Regions from separate parts of the Homo sapiens genome. Here all the other regions are linked to region 3. The links are contacts of gene promoters, found by promoter capture Hi-C in blood cells and fetal thymus (Javierre and others, 2016). All regions are on one chromosome and are shown on one strand. The core of a region is centred on a gene start or on the middle of the fragment in contact, and the rest is flanking DNA. Distances in the headings are between cores, read along the strand shown. Region 1 holds the start of GSK3A (glycogen synthase kinase 3 alpha). Region 2 holds the start of POU2F2-AS2 (POU2F2 antisense RNA 2). Region 3 holds the start of CNFN (cornifelin). Region 4 has its middle 18 kb from the start of POU2F2-AS2.

Region 1 (5,699 bases), core at 3,143-5,642, 150 kb before region 3:
TGGGCATGGTGGCGCACGCCTGTGATTCCAACTACTCAGGTGGATGAGGTACAAGAATTGCTTGAACCCAGGAGGCAGAGGTTGCAGCGCTTGAACCCAGGAGGCAGAGGTTGCAGTGAGCCGACATCACACCACTGCACTCCAGCCTTAGTGACAGAACGAGATTCTGTCTTAAAAAAAAAAAAAAAAAAATAGAGACCATCCTGGCTAACTCGGTGAAACCCCGTCCCTACTAGAAATACAAAAAATTAGCCGAGAGTGGTGGCACACGCCTGTAGTCCCAGCTACTAGGGAGGCTGAGGCAGAAGAATCGCTTGAACCCGGCAGGCGGAGGTTGCAGTGACCCGAGATCACGCCACCACACTCCAGCCTGGGTGACAGCATGAGACTCCGTCTCAAAAAAAAAAAAAAAAAAAAAAAAAAGATTTCACATCTAAATCCAGTTTTCAGTTTGTCTTGAAAAATCAGGGCTAGGTATGCTGGCTCATGCCTGTAATACCAGCACTTTGGGAGGTCGAGGTGGGGGCGGATTACTTGAGGTCAGGAGTTCGAGACCAGCCTGGCCAACATGGCAAAACCCTGTCTCTACTAAAAATACAAAAAAAAAAAATTAGCCAGGCATAGTGGCCCATGCCTGCAATCCCAGCTACTCAGGTGGTTGAGGCACAAGAATCGCTTGAACCTGGGAGGCAGAGGTTGTAGCGGGCCAAGATCGTGCCACTGCACTCCAGCCTGGGTGACAGAGTAAGACTCCATCTCAAAAAAAAAAAATCAGGCATGGGCACATGAGGCTTGCCCCCCTACCTGGCACAAGCAACAACAGACAGGTAGTGGCCATCCAGCTCACTCTGGTCCCGTGGAAGCATCTGGGTCCTCGAACTCTATCTAGGATCCTGAGTCCCAGACTCCAGGCATTGGACTTTTCCCAGAATGCGGTCTCAGCATTCTTCCCCATTCTCTATTCCTCAGTGAGGCCTAGGAACTCCCTGCCCCTACATCCCTCTTACTTCTGGAACTCAACTCCAATCAAATTCTGACACCCTGGAGCTCCTCCTGCCCAAGGGCCCTCCCTGCCAAGACCGAGGCCCTGGTCTGGTTCCTTTCCAGTCTAGGCTCAGTTCTCCTACATCCAGACTAGTCTAAGCTCCAAATGCCAGGCCCTTAAACACCAATTATTCCTCAACTTCCACTTCCTCCATCTCCTTCTAGTTCCCTGAGCCTCTCCTAGCTCACAGGGCACCTCCATTCCATTCTGCGCTGGCCAAACACCTGGGAAGAGCGCGACCTTCAGAACCACCCGCGCTAGCCCTGCCAGGTCCCTTTCTCTCCTGGGAAGAAGTGTAACCAAATGGTTAAGGTAGAGGGTTTGGGAATCAGATTCCAGCCTTGACTGGGGCACTTGCTCTATGACCTCAGGCAATCCTCTTACCTGAGTTTGTTTCCCTGCTTTTAAACTTAGCTTACACTTAGAATGGGTATAACCACAGTACCTACCCTCAGAGAATCTTTATGTAAATTAAACAAGAATTTGCTTATTAAGCACTTACATTGAGCAAATGCCCAGTAAAAGCTCTGGGCTCTCCTGGGATCCACATTTCCCATCTTTCACAGGTCTCATTTCCTCTTTTCCCCCTTCTCTTCTGGCCCATGGCTCTGAAACCCAAGCCTCCAGCTCTCTGGCTCAGGTTCTCCCACCAGTCACACCCAGTCCCCAAACCTCCCTGTCCCCATCCCGCCCAAGCTACCTTGAACCTCTTGTCCTGGAGAACCTTCTTGATGGCGACTAGTTCCCTGGTCTCTGCCAGCCGTGCCTGGTACACGACCCCAAATGAGCCATTGCCAATCACTTTGATGTCCGTGTAAGCCACTTCTTGGGAGCGCTCTGGGCCTTGGCCTAGAGTGGCTACGACTGTGGTCACCTTCCCGCTGTCACCTGGGGAACAAAGGGGATACACGATCCACTGACCCATCCTGCCTGCGCATCACCCTATCCTGGGGCTGTGGGAGGAAGGGAAATCTCTGCAGGAAGCTCGTTGGGGACCTCTTTGTCCCCTCCTCCTCTTTGAGGAAAGGTGGATGCTGGGACCTTCCCAGTGACTTTTCCCCTCTTCCTTTCTGGGAATCTTAAGTCCTGCTCCCCTCCACATAGGAGGATATTGATACCTAAATCTCTCTGCTTCAAGGGTTGGCAACCCCAAATTTCTACTTCTAGGAAGCAACAGATCACTGGTCCATCTTGGTACTGGGAGACATCAGATGTTGACTCCATCTACTCTGGATCTACTGCCCTCTGGCCCCTCCTATTTGGAGAAAGCTTGACCGAGCCTCTTCCACTTCAGGGAGCAGTAACCCTGAGGTACTCCTACTTTAGGAAAGCACTAACCTCTCTCACAGCCTAGAGGATACTGACCTCTAAGTCCTCCCCTGTAGAGCTGGTAACTTTACTGGTTCTTGGTGACAGAAATGAATGTCCTCTCCTGCTATAAGTGCCAGTGCCCTGACCCTCACTTTTTGGTACTTTGAGGTTAGAAAAAAACACTGACCTGACCTCTTCATCTGAGTGGTCCAGAGACCCAGACCCCTCACTATATGTGGGTGGTCCCTAATGGACAAGCACCAAATTATGATAATGATGAACCTGACCTTTATTATCAAGGAGCTATTCCAGCCTCAGTCCTTTGAAGGAAAGCTATAATTCCCAATTCCCATTATTCAAATGGTGGCAAACCTTGGTGCCATTCTTAGAGGATAGTGACCCCTTTGAGTAACTGATGAACCAAATCCATTTTTTTGTTTTTTTTTTTGAGACACAGTTTCGCTCTCGTTGCCCAGCTGGAGTGCAGTGGCACGATCTCGACTCACTGCAACCTCCGCCTGCTGGGTTCAAGCGATTCTCCTGCCTCAGCCTCCCGAGAAGCTGGGATTACAGGCGCCCGCCACCACGCCCAGCTAATTTTTTATATTTTTAGTAGAGACAGGGTTCCACCAGTTGGCCAGGCTGGTCTCGAACTCCTGACCGCAGGTGATCCGCCCACCTCAGCCTCCCAAAGTGCTGGGATTACAGGCGTGAGCCACCGCGCCCGGCCACCAAATCCATTTTGAGGGGCCAGTGACAAGTTCTTTCAGAGGGAGATAACCCTACATCACTTTTTTTTTTCAGAGCCAATGACACCATACCTTAGAACAATTATTAAAAAAGTATAACCTTAGATCCATATTCTGTAGGAAACTGTGACCTACCCTGCTCCATTCCATTTTTGTTAAAGGAGACACACCAAGCCATGTATTTTAAAACATGGACTATGGACTTGGTTTGAAGGATATGCTGACTCCCAATGTCTTTATATCTAAAAGGCAGTAACTATTAATTCTCACCATTGGCAGTACAGCTCAACAAGATTTAGGGTGGGTAATGATGCCAGGTCTTGGTTTTAATAGGGAAGATGATCTGAGTACCAGGTTTGGAAAGCCTGGCCCTATTCTTTGGGGACAAAACACAGTAACCTCAAAGCCCTGCTTCTAAGTGATATTCGCTCCAAATCCCCATCTTCTGAAGGACAGGGAATGCAGATCCCTCTTTTTCGGGGTTGGTCTTATTCTTGTTCTCTTAGGAGACAATAACCCTAGATCCCCATTTGCAAGCGACTGTGACCTCTGATCCAATATTATAATGAATAGCAACATCAGATACCTGTTCTTAAGGCTCAAGGACCCAAGACCTCAATAATGGAAGAACAGAGACTTGTAACCCGTTTCTTTAAGTGTTAGTAATTCTGATCCACGAGTAATTCTGATCTCCAAGAGATGGTAACCCCAAGACTCCTTTTCCTGGGAGGAAGAGGGCTCGGATCCCCGGTATGGGGAGGCACAGTGACCTCGAGCTCCTATCTAAGCACATGAAAGAATCTGATGGATGTCTGAGGAGCTTTGGGAACCCTAATCACCACCCTACACGGGCGCCACTAGTACTCACGGCCCAGCTTCACCCCGGGCGGCGGGAAGCTAGTGCCTGCGCCGGGGCCTCCGCTGCCTCCTCCGCCGCTGCCGCCGGGTCCACCCCCGGAGCTCGAGGCCCCGACGCCCCCACCCATGGCCCCGACAGATGCCTTTCCGCCGCCGGTGCCGCCTGGGCCGGAGGCCGAGCCTCCGGGGCCGCCGCCGCCTCCTCCGCCTCCGCCGCCGGGCTCCGCGAACGAGCTAGTCCGCGCCCTGCCCGAGCCCCCAGGGCCGCCTCCCGAAGGCCCGCCGCCGCTCATGGCGCCGAGCACAGGCCCAGGCTGCGGGGCTCGGGCTGCCCGGGCTGCCCCAGCCGCCGCCGCTGCCGCCGCCTCCCCCGGGCCCTGGCCTCTTCCAGGCCGCGCCGCTCTGGCTTGGGCTCCGGCTCCGGCCCAGCGCCCGCCGCGGGGCACGCCGGGAGATGCAGTCCGGCTGTCGTCCGCGCCGCCGTCACCGCCCTCGGCCCGCACAGAGAGCCGCGTGGCACGCCGGGAAATGAAGTCCACAAAAGCCTCAGAGTAGACCGCGGGAATGATGGGCGGGAATGACGGGTCACGCTGTACGTCGGGAAATGGAGTCCAGGGTAATCTGTCAGCCGACTGTACGACGGGGAGCCCTGAAGCACTTTAGGAAGCAGAGAGCCTGATGCACGCTGGGAAACGGAGTCCACTCACTCAGTCTATTAGCTGTGTATGCCTCCCAGAGCTCGGTGCGCTCTGGGAAATTGAGTCGGCCCGCGTGAACCTGCGGGTCTCGGGCCGTGAGGCAAGCCGGGAAATGGAGTCGTCGCCACGCCCTCACCGCATTGCAGGTGTAAAGCGATTTTTAAAGCACGCCGGGAAATGGAGTCTCAGGTGGTTTTTAAGCCCCAGGTGGATACTGCAGTTCCGGAGATGGGCGAGGAAATGGAGTAGGTTTACGCGCTCCTCTTTCCAGGTACGCTGGGCCGCAGTCCCTGCCGGGAAGTGTAGTCAGCACCAAGGCCTCAGTGCAGTTGCCACAGCGAGCCCTGGTGTGTTCTGGGAAATGGAGTTCGACGTATCCTCCCCATTGACTGAGGGGGCGGGATCGCCCATGAGCTCCAAGCATGCTGGGGAATAGTCCAGACCTGACCCTCTGTGAGGCCAGTCTGCGGAGGCTTGCCGGGAAGCGAAGTCCAATGGCCACCATCAGGGGCGTGTGAACGAAAGGTTAGAGACTGCGGCAGTTCCCTGGAGAGACTTAAAAGTGTTTCAGCGCCTCCTTCCTCGCCCCCAGGTCCTTCTTTAAGAAAGAGCCGAGGTCGATCAAGGACTGCTGGAAAATGGATCCAAGCACCTTTAAGTTCCAGGTGACCATAGATCAGGAAAGAAAAAATGTCCCCTCTCTAACCGCAACTCTGCAAAGATTCGGGAAACAAAGTTCCCGGCGGTTTCTCAGAACACTAACTAGTCTTCGGATACAGTCTAGCTTTTCCTAGCAATGTGGTTCGCACCAGGAAGCTGAATGGAGCATTAAAAAGACGGAAATGTCATTTCTGGGCCTGGCGCTGTGGCTCAGGCTGGGCGCCAGTAGCTCACGCCTGTAATCCTAGCACTTTGGGAGGCCGAGGCTGGCGGATCATCCGAGGTCAGGAGTTCGAGACCAGCCTGGCCAACATAGCGAAACCCCCGTCTCTACTAAAAGTACAAAAATTAGCCGGGTGTGGTGGCGGGCGCCTGTAA
Region 2 (5,272 bases), core at 1,450-3,949, 240 kb before region 3:
GTGCGTTGGGAAAAAATCCTCTGCAAATACAAAAGCTTAAAGACCTGGAACCTAGAGGATGGGCAGGAGTCAGAGAGAAGAGCAACAGGAAAGGGCATGGCCATTTATCAGGTGACATTGTGTTTTGTATTTCCCCTTTCCCTGACCCCTATGAGGTAGTAGTTATGACCCAGAGGAGGAAATAAGGCTCAGACAGGAGAAGCCCCCTTCCCAGGGTGTCATGGTGAGTCCATGGAAGAGCCGGGATTTGTACCCCTCACACTGAGGCAGGCAAAATGGTCATTGCAGGAGAAGCATCCCCTGATCTCTTGCCCCCCTCTTCATCCTTCGCCCCCAAAGCCCTCACCTCTTTCCAGGTTTCCTGGTCTTGGCCTGAATCTCATACTCCTCAGCTGATCCTGCCAACCTCATCTCCACCCCAAGACCCACCCAGCCCTGCCCCAGCTGACACCTGGTTCTTGTGCTCACATCCTGGCCTTTCCCACATGGCCCAGAGGGACCTTTCTGTCTTCTATTAGGAAGGCCTTGTACTAATTGGAAAACTTTTGTTTGACGGTAATGCCAAAAAATTCATAACTAGTGAAAAGTAAGCACTGTTTCAGGCATAAGCAAGCATATAGCATGTGGGTAAATACGTGGGTCTGTACACGCCTTTGAAACACAAATGCCGTCTTCCCACATCAGAGGGATCTCTCTAACACAGAGATCCTCACTCCCCTCCGCAAACCAGGTAGCTGTGAGGCCAGAGGTGGGGAACTGTGAAAGCTGCACTAATGTAGACCTTGTTGGTGTTGGGTGGAGGTGACTGGTCCTAGGTGAAGGAGAGAGGCTTGGAAAGGACACCCAGGGTCATCCTGAGATCCTCCTCATCCTCCAAATGCCCCCATCTGTCAACTTCCCCTCAATTCAACCCAAAGATGTCTGAATCCCTCTGCTCCTCCGGCTGTGCCTCCCACTCAGGACTTGCTCCTCCCCACCCCACCCCACCCCAGCCTCTACTGTTGCACGGGTTCTTCCTCACTTGCTCCACAAATGTCCCTTGAATCCTGTCTGTGTGGCAAGCAATGAACCAGACACCAGTGATGTCACGGCCCCTGCTCTGGGGAGCTGACAATGGACATGGACCCAGGCGTCTTGAATCCACGCCCCATGTTCCTTAAAGCATGACCCTGGTTGGGCCTCGCTCCCACCCAGACCGAGAGGAAAAATCTTGGCACCCTAGACCTGCCCACGTCTGCAGCTTCACCTTCCCAAGCCACCATGAGAAGGAGAGAGGAGGGGCGACCATGTTCCCCAGCCTGAAGATCCTGCCCTCAACTCCCTCCCTAGGAGACAGAGGACCCTGGGCTTTCAAGGCAACATAATCCACAGGGGAGGCCGTAAACACCCTTGGAGTAGCTCGCTTTTCAGGGGAAACCAAGGCTCAGGGCCAGCATGACTTGAGCAAAGCCACACAGCGCGTCTGTGGCAGACAGATGGGCCCCACCCCTCAGTTCCCAGCTCCATCTCTGCGAGTGTAGACTTGTTTGAACTTCCCTAGACACTGACACTGCCAAGAGAAAGAAGAGGGGCTTAAGACCCTTTTTCTGCGTGTTCTGCTGATGTTCCAAGGACCTGAGCCTCCACTTCTTTCTATGGCTGTGGGAGGGGAGATGAACCAAGAGAGATGGGGCTAGACAAGGGATGTGGGGCGCAGGCAGGGTAGAAAAAGACAGAGTGAAAAGCATACAGCAGGGCAGAGAAAAGAGGGGTGTAAGGAAAGAGTAACTGGGGACTATCAAGGTAGAACAGAGAAGTGTATGGGGGTTTTTAAATCCCTGGAGGGAGAGGCAGCAATAAAGGAAAGAGAGTCAGAGTCAAATAGAGAGACAGAGACAGGAAGATGCAGATAAAGAGGTAGAGAGAGAGAACAGCAGAAAGAGAGACAAAGAAAACAGGAGAGAAAAGAAAGAGGGAGGGAGGGGGAAGAGCAAGCAGAGGTGGGGCCACAAGGGCCTCCTGTAAATTGCTTCCCAACACCCTCTCCCCTGCCCCTCACACCAGCAGTCCAGCAGGGTGTGTGGTGTCGTCCCCATCCCTGAAGGGGCTGCTCCGGGCAGAGCTGAGACTGACACATGGGAAGGTGTCCAGCTCCCGGCCCTCTCTCTTTTCCTGCACCCAGCTGCCTCCCAAAGAAAAGGGCCAAGTTCAGTGTGGAAGGGGCAGAGACAGGCCCTGGGGGACTGAGAGCTGAAGTGCTGTAACCAGGGGCAGAGAGGCTGCAGTCTGTCTCCCCTCTTCAGTGCCTGGTCCCCACAGACACCCTACCTGTTCTTGTCCCCTGCTGGCTGCTGAGGGACAGGCTTTGGCTATCCTGACTTTGGCCAATGCCTCCCTCAACCTGTGGCCATCGTCTCCCTGCCTGGTGACCCCAACACCCTCCTGTACCTCCTCCTACCCATCCCTGTGCCCCCCAAGACCACCCATCCCATGGCCACCTTTCTGCTCCTCTGCAGGTTTGGGGTTAGGGAAGGGAGCACAGAGGCCTAGATGGGGGGTGGAAGGCTTGGTGGATTATTGAAGATGTGCGGGCACTGCGGCTGACATGGATGAGGAGGAAGAGGAGGGGGTCTTGGTGATGGACGATGCTGATCCTGCGGTGGGGGGAATGGCAGGGGAGGGGGTGGAGAGGGCTGGGGGAGGGGTGGTGAGGAAGCAGGTTCGGAGGGGAGCAGGACCAGGCTCACATTTGGCATTCAGGGCAGCTGACAATAAAAATGCTTTATTGCCAAGAAACTGGATCGATCGGGGCTGGAGGGGGCCGGCAGGGGGGACGCGGAGGGCTCAGCGCAGAGGCCGGCGGCCGGCCTTCGCAGCGACCAGGGCCCGAGCCGCCCTCCCCCCTGCACCCCCCTCCCTGCCTCCTGCCCTTTCTCTCTCCTGCAGCCACCGCTTAGTTCTTATTATATTTTTTCTTATATATTTTTCCCCCAGCTTCTCCTGCTCCTGTTTTTTTATTCTTTTAATTTTTTTTAAAACTCGCTGCACTCCCAATGCCGCAGGCCGGGTGGGGGTGGGGTGGGGGCATCTGCCTGGGCCAGGCCCCTATCCACAGGGTGCCCAGAACTGCTGGCTCTGGGATGAGCCCCACTTTGCTTCTGTATCCCCCAATCCAACCAGGCTCCTCCTAGAGCCTGTCCTCTGTGGATGCCCATCTCCCCCTGCCACCCCTCCAAGGGGCCTCCTTCCAACCTCAGAGTACCCACACACACATATCCATGGTGGGCTGAGGGCCCTGGCCAGGCCTTCCTCCCCTCCCCCCTACCTGGCCCCCTGCTCACTCCCGGAGCCATTTGGCTGATGGTCAGAACTGTCTGTCAAGGTGGCTCTGAGCCCCTGGGGACCCAGATGGGAGGAGGGAGGGGGAGAGGTCGGGGGTCAGGCCACGTCCCCTCAGCTTGTCTCTTTCCCCTCCCCCTTCCTAACAAAGGGAGCATCGGCCTGACACTGGCGGGATGGCCTGGTACTCAGGGAAGCGGGGAGGAGAGGGGCTGTGGGGATGGCCATGGGCAGAAGGCGGGGGTGGGGGCCGCCTGCCCCTCCTCTGCCCTCCCCCTCGGGTCAAGGCTAAGGTGATTCCTCAACCTCTCGGAGGCTGGGCTGGGAGGAGAGGAGGATCTGGACAGACAAAGAACTGGAGCCCTGGGGAGTTGGGGGCTGGGGGGACGCACCTGGGACCAGGGCAGTCCTGGCTGAGGGAGGGGCAACAGGCACCCCTCTGGCCCTGCTCTCACCCTCTGGATGGCCCTGCCTCCCATCTGTACCAATCCCTACGGATCCCAGAGCCATACAGACCTTCCAGCTTGGGCAAGGTCGGATGGGGGTGGGGGGAAACTGAGGCCCAGAGAGGGGAGACGGCCCAGGCCCAGGGTTCTCAGCGCTGTCCCAGAGTCTCTCCCCTCACTTCTCTTCCTACTAAGGGAAGACATCTTCCTCTCCTGCCCTCCCCCACCCAGGTCAGGGGAGGTTTGGTGGGGGCAGATGGTAGAAGGTTCTATGGAGAGGGAAGAGGAGGCTGAGGAAAAAGTGAGGCTAAGCGTTCTCCTCTCTTAAGCCAGTGGGCAGGGGAGGAAGCCAGAAGAGAAAAAGTCTAAATGTGACCTTGAGCACTGGCCTGGCACAGCTGTGGGAAGAAACTTAACGTCCGTCAGAAAGGGCAGGAAACCAACATAGACAGGGTGCTCCTGAGTACCTGGCTAGCGGTGGCTGGGGAAGAGGCCTTCAGACAGTTTTCCCCTTTTGCCCATGGCTACAGTGAAGGAGGAGGATTCACACTCTGGTTGGTCACAATCCACCCATGACACTGCGTCAGGGCCTCCCATCCACCCAGCCTGACTGTGGGGCGCAACGGGTAGCTGAGGCAATGAACAGCTGTGAGCCCCCATGCCCACAGGGATATGGAGCCTCCAAAGAGACAGAAGGAAACAGGCAGATCTTCTGTGCTTAAATTCTCCTATGAAGGCTGAGGTGACTCTCGGGGAGAGGGCCGCAGCGAAGAAGAAGAGGGGGAGAATAAGGCGGGCCTCTTTTGGAGGGGGTGGGATGGGCTCACACATGCCCCCACAGCCTGCCAAGAAGGCCCCAGATGGGCCGAGGACTATAGGGGTCCCGGCTGCCCTCCCCCAAACCTCCCCTCCCTTCTCTCCCTCTCTCTTTCTCGGCTGGCTATCGACCGGGGCTGTGACATGGTGGATCAATACGGCAGGGATATAAAGCCGGCTGGCTGGCTGCCTGCCTCTGCCTCTCTCTCTCTCCCTTGCTTGCCTTGCTTCCTTTTCCCGGAGCCGCACCCAGGTCCCCCACCATCATGTACCCCTTACCCAGGCCTCTGAGGGGCCAGGCACCCCCCACCACTCCCCTACAGCAGGAGAGCTTAGGGAGGCTGAGAGCTTGGACAGCCGGGAGAGGGGGTGAGTATGGGAGTGGGCAAGGAAGCAGATGGGGATGGGGGCCATAGTTTCAGGTAAGGGGGCTGGGAGAAATTGAGGGACAATTTCTGGGAGAAAGCAGGCATCCCCTCAATTGGGAGCAGCTCAGAAAGATGGGGCCCTTTGAAGGTGTGTGACGGACAGAGCTCTGGGAGGTGGGCAGGGGGCACCTGTGGGTTCAGAGAGACACTGTCCTGAGCCCATGAGGCAGGGGAAGGTCTGGGGTGGGTGCTGGAGTAGGCTACGGTGAATGGACACAAAGAACAGTGGGGCGAACCCTCAGGCCGGCCTGCGCCCACCCCCAG
Region 3 (5,094 bases), core at 1,127-3,626:
AGTGAGCATAGACTGTGCCATTGCATTCCAGCCTGGGCGACAGAGCAATACTCCGTCTCAAAAAAAACAAAAAACAAAACAAAAAAAAAAACGAAAGAAAGAAAAAAAAAGAAAAAGAAATTAAAGTCTCGGTCTGTCATCCAGGCTGGAGTGCAGTGGTGTGATCACATGTCTCACTGTAGCCTCGACCTCCTGGGCTCAAGCAATCCTCCCGCCTCGGCCTCCCGAGTAGCTGGGACTACTGGTGTGTGCCACCACCTCGGGCTAATTTTATTTTTTATTTTTATTTTTGAGACGGAATCTCGCTCTGTTGCCCAGACTGGAGTGCAGTGGCGTGATCTCGGCTCACTGCAACCTCTGTCTCCCGGGTTCAATCAATTCTCTTTCTCAGCCTCCCGAGTAGCTGAGTTTACAGGCGCCCGCCACCACGCCCGGTTTTTTTTTTTGTATTTTTAGTAGAGACGGGGTTTCACCATCTTGGCCAGACTGGTCTTGAACTCCTGACCTTGTGGTCCACCTGCCATGGCCTCCCAAAGTCCTGGGATTACAGGCGTGAGCCACTGCGCCCGACCTATTTTTTATTTTTATTTTTGTAGAGATGGGGATCTCATTATGTTGCCCAGGCTGATCTTGAATTCCTGGCCTCAAGGGATTGTCATGCCTTGGCCTCCCAAAGTGTTGGGATTACAGGCATGAGCCACTGCACTGGGCCAGGAGCTAGGGTTTGAAGAGGGAGTTGGGGGTCACAGTGAGGAAAGCTGAGCATGCAAAGGGGAGGTTGAGGGCCTGATAAGTTGAGTGTGGGAAGGCATGAGGTAGTATCCTAAGGAGTGTTGGGGGTCTGAGGAAAGGGTGACTGTTAGAGTGGGAATTCCAAGTCCAGGGAAGGGAGGTGGGAGTGGGGTTAGCAAGCGGTGGGAGGAGGTTGGAGGTGAGCTTCCCTCTCCTGATTCCCCCCAAACCCATCTTCCACCAGGCCTGGAGAGGGAGCAGGCAGGCACTCACAGACAGGCATGTCGTTGCAGCAGTCCGTGAGACCTGTGTGCCAGTCACTGAGCTGGGTCTGGTAGCAGCTGGTGGTGGCGCACTGGGGCTGACTGGTCACAGGGTAGGACATAGCTGCAGAGGTGGGAGGGTAGGGGTCAGCTGGCAGCCTCGCAGCATCTCCTGGGCCCCGCACTTCGGCCACCCTTCCCTGTGCCGGGCAGTCTGGGCGGGGCCGCCAGGCCGCCCACTGAAGGGACACCACTGTGCCTCCCCCTTCCCTTCTGCTACATCTGGGCACCGGCAACCCCAGTCTGTCCCTGTTGCTGCTGGCTCCTGCACGTCTGGTTAGGCTGGGGGTGGGGGTCTCCTGCACATCTGAGGAAGGGTGGGGACCACATCTGGGTGGGGCCTGGCGGTGCCGCCTCCTCCTCCACGTCTGGGCCTGGGTTCTGGGTTGCAGCATTTCTGGGGCCTCTGGGGTGGAAGCAGGCGCCGTCTGTCTTCGAAGCAAGGGTGCCCAGGGGAGGGAGGCGGCCAGGTTCCAGTACTGAGAGGGTTGCTGGTCCACCCAGCGGTCCCACCTTTGCCTTTCACGTTGTCGTGCATCTCAAACTGCATCTTGCTGGCCCTGAGGAGGTGGCGTTGGGGACGGCAGAAGTGGCTGTGGCAACAGTGGCAGAGTCTGTCCAAGGGACGCTGGATACTGGGGAGGTGGGGGCAAGGGACTGGGGCACTGGGGGCTGGGCTCTCAGGGGGAGGGGAGCTGGGGAGAAAGAGGCCAAGTCAGCCTGTCAACCAGGAGAGACATGGAATAGGGAATGGATAGGGCGGGGGCGAGAAACTCGCCCATGTCTTTCCAACTGCCCGACAGATTGCAGAGGACCCTCCCCATACCCGAGATAGAGCTTGAGGGAGAACAAGAAATGGAGATGGACAGAGTCAGAGACAAGGGGAGAAAGATCAGAGCCAGGTGCCCGTAGAGATGTCACCAGTAATGCCCACATGTGCCCAGCACTTTGACTCCTCTGCAAGCCCATCTCACAGATGAGCACTGAGGCTCAGAGACATGAGGAGGAACGCCCCACGTCTGACGGCCCAGGCCAAGGGGGTTCATAGAGGTGATGCTGGGCCCCAAGACTTCTAAATTCAGCTCAGCACACCCCAGTTAAGAAGGACAGATTTGGGGGCATTGGGAAGGACAGAGATGTCCCGAGAGACCGACAATCAGCGATATGAAAGGAGACAGAGTGATATGAGTGGGATGAGGAGGAGGGAGAACAGAGCAGAGGCGCCCAACCTCAAAGAAGAGGGCTGCGGAGGGGATGTTCCTACCTGCAGGATCGCGATGGCAGTGATGGAGGCAGACGTGTGGAGACACGGGCACTGACTTCTCCGTCTCAGCCCAGAGCCACTTATATGGGCGGCCACGCAGCCCTGGGCGGGGCTCTGACAGAGGTGCCCAGGGAGCCAAGCCGGTCTGATCGACCCTCTCCCCACACTGGGATTTCCCGCCCTCCCTCTCCACTCCCATCCCCCCACTTCTCCTCCTGCCTCAGCTCCCAGGACCCAGGGAAAAGAAGGTGGCGGGGGGTGGGAGGTTTGGCGGGGGCGGGGGGCCACAGCCGGGTCAATGCGCAGAGACCAAAAGAGAGGGAGAGACAGAAACACAGTGTCAGAAAGGCAGGCAGGGAAGTCCCTCTAGACAGAAAGGAGAGAGAGGAGATTCAGAGAGATGGAGAGACGCAGGAAGATGTAGAGAGATGGAGAGGTGCCAAGAAACAGAGGGGCACAAAAATGTGAAAAGAAATAACAAGAAGAGGGGAGATGGGCCAGGCATGGTGGCTCTCGCCTGTAATCCCAACCCTGTAATCGCCTGAGGTGAGAGGATCGCTTGAGCCCAGGAGTTGAAGACCAGCCTGGGCAACATAGGGATACCCCATCTCTACAAAAAATACAAATAGAATTAGCCGGGCATGGTGGCATGTGCCTGTAGTCCCAGCTACTTGAGAGGCTGAGGCAGGAGGATCGCTTGAGTCCAGAAGTTTGAGGCTGCAGTGAGCCGTGTTCCCGCCACTACACTCCGGCCTCAGTGACAGAGCAAGACCCTGTCTTAAAAAAAAAAAAGGAAAGAAAAGGGGAGATGGGAGACAGAAGAGAGACGGAGATGGAAAAGTGGAGAGGCAGGTGGGGGGATCACTGAACAGGCTTAGAGGGCAGGGAAATGGGGAGAGGTGATGGGTGGGGAGAGAAAAAGGCCGGGTGGAGTGGGAGAGAGTGCTGTGTGGGACTCCCCTTTCAGGGTCTCGCTCATCTCTCTCAGTGATATCCCCACTTTCCTGGGAGAGGGGGACAGTGTCCTCCCCATTCAAGCCAGGAGACACATGGGGGGCAGTGTGTTTTGGGGAATGACTCATGTTGGAACCAAAGTAAATAAACACACCTCACCCCAGCTCCAAATTGGGAAGGGAGGAGGCTGGGAACTGAAAAGCCGCAGTTCCTGAAGGACGTGGACGTCACCTGGGACTCCTGGGTCCTAATGGAGCAAAGGAGTGGGGGCTTGGACCCCTGGGTCTGAGGGAGGAGGGGCTGGGGCCCTGGACTCCTGCGTCTCATGAGGCCAGGCTGCACATCCCTCAGTAGGGTAGGGGTCCTGGGATTCCACACTGCTGGGCTCCTGAGCAGGGAAGGAGCTGGGGGTCTGGGTGCCTGAATCGCCAAAGTTTCCCCCCAACAGGCCTGACGGGGTTGGGAGGTGACTCAGTGAGGGAAGCAGCATTAGAGCTGGGTGGGGTTCTCAGCACGGGTGTCACCCCAAAAATGTAGGAGGCACTAGAAAACTGGGGTGTCACCTGCAGAGAAGGTGGTGTCATCACCCCGCCGGGTATGGGGTGATGGCAGGTGGATCACCCTGCTAGCTGGGATCCCAGGTGTCCCCTCCCTCCCTCCCTCCCTCCAACACATTAGGACCCAAGCCTTGGTCTCCCAGCACCACCCAGATGGTTGGGTCTTCCTGTCCCCAGAACTCCCGGCAGCGCTCACTGTCTTGCCGGTGCACGTCCGTCATTGGTCCTAGAGCCTGGATGTCTGGGGGACATCTCCTCACTTGTGTCCTAACATCCCTGTCTCCTCATCTCTGAATCTTCGTCTCTCACCCTGCATCTTCACCTTTCCAGCTGTGAATCTGTCTTTCTTTCCTCATCTCTGCAAATCTCTTTCCAAATCTCTGTCTCTCCATCTCTGGGTCCCTCTCCTTCCAGGCTCTGTGTCTCTGTGCCCTTATCCCGGGGTCTCTGTCTCCTATGTCAAAATCTCTTCTGAATCTCGCTTCCCATCTCTGTTCATCTCCAGACCTGCCCTGTGGAGGCAGCTACAGGGCCCCATCCCCCCTGCTGTCCAGACTAAGGGTGCAGGTGACTCAAGGTCAGTCATCTCCGAGGACCCCAGGGCTCCCAGCATGACACTCTGAGTTGTCCTCAAGTTTCCTCTCTCACTCCTGACACAGCCTGGGGGCCCCAATTAGATCTAGCAATTCATGCAGGTGAGGAAATAGAGACTGGGGAAGCTGTGAGGTGGCCTGCTTGGGGGTGAGGAGGGCCGTGAGCAGGAGGAGGAGCTCCTGGGGGGCTGAGGAGTGATGGTGGCCCAGTCACCAGGCATTGGCCTACATCCTCCTCAAACAGGGTTGCCACATAAAATACAGGCTGTCCTGTAAAATCTGAAATTCAGATAAGCAACAAACAGGTTTTTTAGCATGTTTCATGCAGTATTTGGGACATATTTATACTAAAAAAGTATTTGTTATTTATCTAAAATTCAAATTAAATTGGGCTTCCTATAGTTTTATTTGCTAAATCTGGAACCCTACCATCAAAGACAGAGGAGTTCAGGACTCCAGCCCCCTCTTTTCCCAGAACCTAGGAGTCCAGGCCCCAGCCTTCCCTCCTTAGGATCTGCGAGTCCAGGTCCTAATCCTCCTCCTCCCCCTTAGAAGGAATGGGGCACCCAACCCCCTCCTCCTTTGGAAATACAGGAGTCCAGGCTCCCAGCCCCTTTCTCCCCAGAACCCAGGCATCCAGACCAGGTCTCAGTCCAGTTGCCCAATGTGGG
Region 4 (5,396 bases), core at 460-2,959, 220 kb before region 3:
TGCCTCATCTGGGTGACTGGGCATGCAGCTCAGGCCTGGCCACAGGAGGCTCAGAAATCAATAGAACGTCAGTAGAAAGTAAGGGTGACTATAGCTCCTGACCTCCATTCCCTAGCAAATCTCCATTTGGGGGCAAGTCGTAGCAGTGGCCAAGATATGGGGCTGGGAGCAAGGGGAAGGTAGTTCTGTACCACCTCCCTCACCAGACCTTGGCCAGGGTTCCCAGACTGGACAGGTAGAGCAGAAGTCCTTGTGACTGGTGGCCTGCTCACTGGATCCCTTCCTCCAGGGGCTACCCATCCTGTCCTGTCCCCACACGAGGCTCAGAGAGATCAGACTTGGTACCTGGCTCACATGCTCTGTCTAGTCCCTCTCAAAACTGTTTTGTGGTTATGTGGTGCGCCCTGAATAAATCCCAAGCCTCACAGTGCTTCCCAGTCATGTAAAGTCTCCTCTCAGTCCTCCTGAAGGTCCCGTGACCCTGGGCCTCACATGATTGCTGGGAACAGTCTAGGCTTGTTCACATGTCCATGCCCTTGCCCAGGCAAGCATCTCCATTTAGACAGTCTTCTGCCTTCTTCTCTGCACCTTATCACCCTCTCCATGTCTCCTCCTTGGTGAATCTTCCTGGGCTCCCCACTCAGCACTGCCCCAGAATGCTTTGTGCACCTCATCCAGAGCCCAGAATCTGGGCCCCAGGTGAAAGGATCCCATTTCCCACCTAGGGACATGCCAGAGGAGTTTTCTAGAGGGAAAAGTGCGGCATAGTGGGGTAAGGGTAGGGGCATCTGAGTGCTGCATTATTTATGCCTGTGTGGGCTCTGTGAGTTTCAGGAGGGATATGTGTACACATTTAGAATCTGTGTGTTGTGCCTGATGTCAAGCTTAAATGTCACTTCCTCAGAGATGTTACACCTAGCCTACCAATCTAAACCAGGTTCTTCCGTGATGCCCTCCTGTAGCCCCTTTTTCCTCTCCTTACCAGGTGTATTTATAACTAACTATACACTGAGGTCTGATCAGTGCCAGTCCTGTTGGCTTGGAGCTCTTAGAGAGCAAGGCCCAGGTCTGTCTCGTAAACCACTGTTTCCTCAGCTTCTAAGACAGGGCCTGACTCCTATAGAGGCTCAGTACCTATGTGATGAGTTAATTAATTCTATACACATTTTCACACTTGAACATCTACCTATTTTGTTTTGCTTTAGGGGGATGAGGCTAGCCTGGGGGGTGTTTGTGTGCTATAACTCAGGGCATGGCCCTTTCGGTCACCACGTGTGGCCTCCCTGTGGGATTTCTGAATGTGGCCTGTGTGCACCCACAGGCATATAGGCTGGGATGCTGCCATGTTTTAGTATTTCTATTCGTACATTTTCTATTGAAAAACAAATCTCCACACGAGGAGCACCCTGGTGTTTTGGTGTCTGTCTTGCCCTGAGAGGTCTCAGCACCTATGTGCCTGCACAGACATCTGGGTTTTCATACCTGTGTCTGAGTATGTGTTTACCCCTGTTTCCAAACCTGGTGTGTCCATTTTGGCATCTCTGTGGACAAATATACAAACGTCTATGTGCATCTGCAGGGTTTAGCATCTATGAATTTTCTTAGGGAATCTCTGACCAAAAGTATGGGTATCTGGCTCCCAGGACCCAAGGGTGCACATGGCTACCATGTGTTTCAGAATCTGTGTATGTCTCTTGCAGGATCATTGCATGTGTCTGCATGCTTATGTATTTCAGTATTTGCCTTGTGCATCCGTTCAAGACTTACGTGGCCTCTCTAGTTTGGCGAATGAGTGCGCGCACACGTGTGTGTGTGCGTGTGTGTGTGTGTCGGGGTGATATAAACACATGTGCGTGTGTACCTGTGTGTCTTTCTTCCCCTCGCTGCTGCGCCTTCCCAGTCTGGATGAGTACCTTTTCTCTGTCTCTCTCTCTCTCACACACACACCCTTGCTCATATGTGCCTTGCAGATGGGGAGGGGGCCGGGGTGTCAGCGAGCTCCTGTGTCACAAGGTTAATTTCTCCACAGCCAGGCAGGCTGGGCCCTGAGGGGAGTGGTGGGGGAGGGGCTGGTCCCCACAGCCCCTCTGATAAATATGTATTTGGGGCTGCTGTGCTCAAAGGTCATGGGGGGAAAAGGAGGAGGAGGGGTGGTCTGCACTGTGCTGTGCTGCTGGGTCCCAGCCAGGCTCAGCATGGGTTGTGTGACCCCCCTCCAGAGGTCTGATGAGATTCAGGGAGATGCCCCCCTCATCCTGGTCTGGCCCACTCCACCCACATCCATGCTCCGAGGGAGATGCTGCTGTGGACACACAGATATTCAAACTCTGAAACAGGCAATCACACAAGCCCACACCCGCCGACACCTAGACAGAGGCTCAAACAGATGCACAAAGACGGCCTCATGGGCCACCAGATACATGGAAGGCTCAGAGTGCAGAGCCAGACCCATCGCTTCTTCCCCACCCCAACCTTCAACCCAACGCCAAAAAAAAAAAAAAAATGCTCAAGAGTGCATAGTGTCTCACAGTAAGAAAGCTTTCTACACATTCAATAGACGCAAACACACACACGGACCCAAAAATGCAGAGTCCAACAAGAAAGGTCCCTGAACACTTTGTGGGTGGGCATGTACACATAGACGCACAAGCAAACACATACACAAAGGCACATACATAGATGCACACCAGGAGTCCCAAAGATACAAAGTTCTACGAAGGTAGGCACATGCTGACAACTGCAGATAAATGTATGAACACACATGCACACAAACATGCACACATACAAAGACCCCAAGACACACACGGCAGGCAGGATGCATGGTGGATCCAGGCTGGGAAACCCACCCTGCTGCAACAGAGCCGGATCTGGCCCTTTCCCCGCTGAGGCGAGAATGGCTGCCTGGTCTCTGGTCATGGGCCCCCAGCCAGCTTCAGCCAAATGCGCCATCATTTGTCCAGCTCTGAGTCACATCAGTTGTCGAGCCTCCCCTCCTCGCTGACCAGCCATCTCGGCCATCAGCGGCCTCGGCCATTAGTCGGCTCCTGCCTCTGGCCTGCATTTGTTGAATCTCCCTTACCTGGCAGAACCGTCCGGACCAATGGAACCCTTTTGGAGTCGGCCTGACCTTTTCCTCAAGGGATTCCGATGTACCCTGTTGTATGACCCTCGGCCCATGCCTCAGGGCGACCCTCCCCTCAGCACACTGCTCAGGCTGTCATTCTTCAATGACCGCTGGCCACAGTAGTTCTGGTGGATTGTGAGGCTGTGTGTTTGAGTATGTGTGGAAGTCCGCTTGTAGGTATATGTGTATGGGTGGTGGGATGGCTATAGCTGTGCTTTAAGTCAAAATGAGTGTGTGTGTGTATGCGTGTGTGTCTGTGTCTGTGTGTGAATAAGGGGATAGGAAGTCAGCAGCTGTGCTTAAAGTCAGAGTGCCTGAGTATATGGTTGTATATATGGGGAGATGGAATGTCAGGGGCTGCGCTTCGTGTGTGTGTGTGTGTGTGTGTGTGTGTGTGTGTGTGTGCACTTTAATGCAGGAGTGACTTGGTGTATTGGCCTGGGCTTGGCGTGGGGGGCCATGAGGGGCCGTGTCTGTTTTGGGCATGGGGGGCAGTGCGGTACAGGCATCTGTTTCTCAAGCAGTTGTGAGCAAGTGGAATGTGCCTCTCTCAGACTCCGTTGCTTGTGTTTGTGAAAGTGACAGATGCTGCCTCCCTGGCCTCACTGCGGCGGATTAAGTCTGTGAATGCCACATGAGTCTGCACCCCGGGTGGGGGAGGGTCCCCAGTCTGCTCTTATACTTGCGTGTGTGGGCCACAGCCCTATACTTTATAGGATCCTGAGAGTGTGGACTAAAGTAACCCCCAACCTTGTTGGTTTCTGTGAGGGAGACCCTGAATGGATGCCAGAATAAAGGTCCCTGTGTGTGTGTGCACAAGCACACTCATGCTCATAGACAAGTCCGTATTGTCCAAAGTACGTTGTCACGAGATGCATGTGTATATGTGTATGTGTGTGTGATTGCAGGCATAATAGCTCCCCGCTGCCAGCCAGATCAAGTTCCAACTTCTCAGAGCAGCAGCTGAGCCTCCACAGACAGGGCCTTGCAACATTGTGCCAACCTCTACTCTTAGACTACACCTCCAACCTGGGCTGCTTTCTCCTCACTTTCCTCTGCCATCTTTATGCCCTGCCACCAGTCTGCTTTTCTCAGTATCTGAGCATCCTTAAAGACTCACCTCCCTGTCTAAACCCACACCATCTTCATTCCCCAGATTCCTAATGACCTGGAAACTCCCTTTGTGCTCACAGTCCAGGCGCCCAGAATCCTGTCTAAGGCTGGGATTGGTTCTGCTTCAGAGTCTAGGCCTTTGTTGGCCCATGGTCAGTGCCTAGCGATCATTTTCAGGTTAAGGAGTGATCATACCACCATTGCCCGATTACCTCAGGGAACTCACTGGACTTTATTTGTTCAGTGATTCACACCACTCAATAAATACCTATTGAATGCAGGGACCTTGCATGTGGAGCCACCACCTTCAGCCTCCTTCCGAATGCGTCAGAGCTGGGAAAGCTGCCTGTCCCGAGGATCTAATGAAGTTGGGGTGGTGATCGAGTGAGGGAAAATGCACCTGCCTCCCAAGGCCACCATGTGGATCTGAAAAGGTGACACAGGGCTCACCAAAAGGGGTAGGGGGGACCATAAGCTCATGCAAACCCCTGTGTTTGAACAGGCCCAGCCCCAAACCATCACTGATGGAACGAGCTCAACCATGCTCATTTGCTGGCTCTCCCTTCAGGATATAAAGCGAGACCCACATCCTTAGAGCCCTCACTGAACCACATAAGGCATCCATCCACCCGACAGGTCCTGGGAGACAGGTCTGTGGATGGACATCTCAGGGGGCAGGGAGGAAGTGGGGGAAGAGACAGAGCCAGTGAAAGGAAATGGCGCTGGGACAGCTAATGGGATAGGACAGACCTATAAGGACAGACAAGGCTCGGTATGAGGAGGACCTTGGTTCTAGCGCCAGCATGGTTGCTGACAGGCTGAGCAAATGATGTGGGCCTCAGAATTCTCATCTGTGAGAGGGACACCACTGGGGCTGCTGTGAGAGCGAGGTGGGTGTAAGGGACATCATGGTCATTATTATTATTAGATCAAGAGGTGTTGAGCCCAAGGGAAAAATGATGAGTGAAATATATTTAGAAGGAGGAATAGACATCCATCTGAGGAGGCCTTACACCCACTCTGTCTTCTAACAACTCTTCACACTTGGGTTTCTCAACCATCTCCATCCTGAAATATCTTGGAAATTAACCAGCACATGCCAGAGATGGAAACTTCTCCCTTGCCATCATCGATGTCCAAGTAGCCCCTGGTGTGGCCA

The links. Contacts are between HindIII fragments. The CHiCAGO score rates a contact against its expected background, and 5 or more counts as called.
Region 1: a contact is called between the fragment with the promoter of GSK3A here and the fragment with the promoter of CNFN in region 3, in 2 of 17 cell types (naive B cells and total B cells). The highest score is 6.2, in naive B cells.
Region 2: a contact is called between a fragment that was not itself captured here and the fragment with the promoter of CNFN in region 3, in 8 of 17 cell types (neutrophils, naive CD4 T cells, fetal thymus and 5 more). The highest score is 9.7, in neutrophils.
Region 4: a contact is called between a fragment that was not itself captured here and the fragment with the promoter of CNFN in region 3, in 5 of 17 cell types (neutrophils, naive CD4 T cells, naive B cells and 2 more). The highest score is 7.9, in neutrophils.

The regions. Positions count from the first base shown.
Region 1 is chr19:42,238,210-42,243,908 of GRCh38, forward strand. GSK3A (glycogen synthase kinase 3 alpha) reads right to left here and starts at 4,393. Exons shown (of 11, transcript NM_019884.3): 1 at 3,974-4,393; 2 at 1,746-1,933. The coding sequence starts at 4,256. RefSeq lists silencers at 3,935-4,214, 4,245-4,454 and enhancers at 4,745-4,954, 4,884-5,678, 5,015-5,064, 5,679-5,699. The HindIII fragment of the contact is 12,371 bases long and covers 2,313-5,699 here.
Region 2 is chr19:42,147,758-42,153,029 of GRCh38, forward strand. It overlaps POU2F2-AS2 (POU2F2 antisense RNA 2), which reads left to right and starts at 4,779. Exons shown (of 2, transcript NR_186341.1): 1 at 4,779-4,949. It also overlaps a transcript of POU2F2 not described here. RefSeq lists enhancers at 1,775-2,275, 2,276-2,776. The HindIII fragment of the contact is 5,333 bases long and covers 34-5,272 here.
Region 3 is chr19:42,387,921-42,393,014 of GRCh38, forward strand. CNFN (cornifelin) reads right to left here and starts at 2,377. Exons shown (of 4, transcript NM_032488.4): 1 at 2,320-2,377; 2 at 1,006-1,119. The coding sequence starts at 1,117. The HindIII fragment of the contact is 9,287 bases long and covers 1-5,094 here.
Region 4 is chr19:42,167,942-42,173,337 of GRCh38, forward strand. It overlaps a transcript of POU2F2 not described here. Among named protein-coding and RNA genes, the nearest start is that of POU2F2-AS2, 18 kb to the left of the region's middle. The HindIII fragment of the contact is 1,654 bases long and covers 883-2,536 here.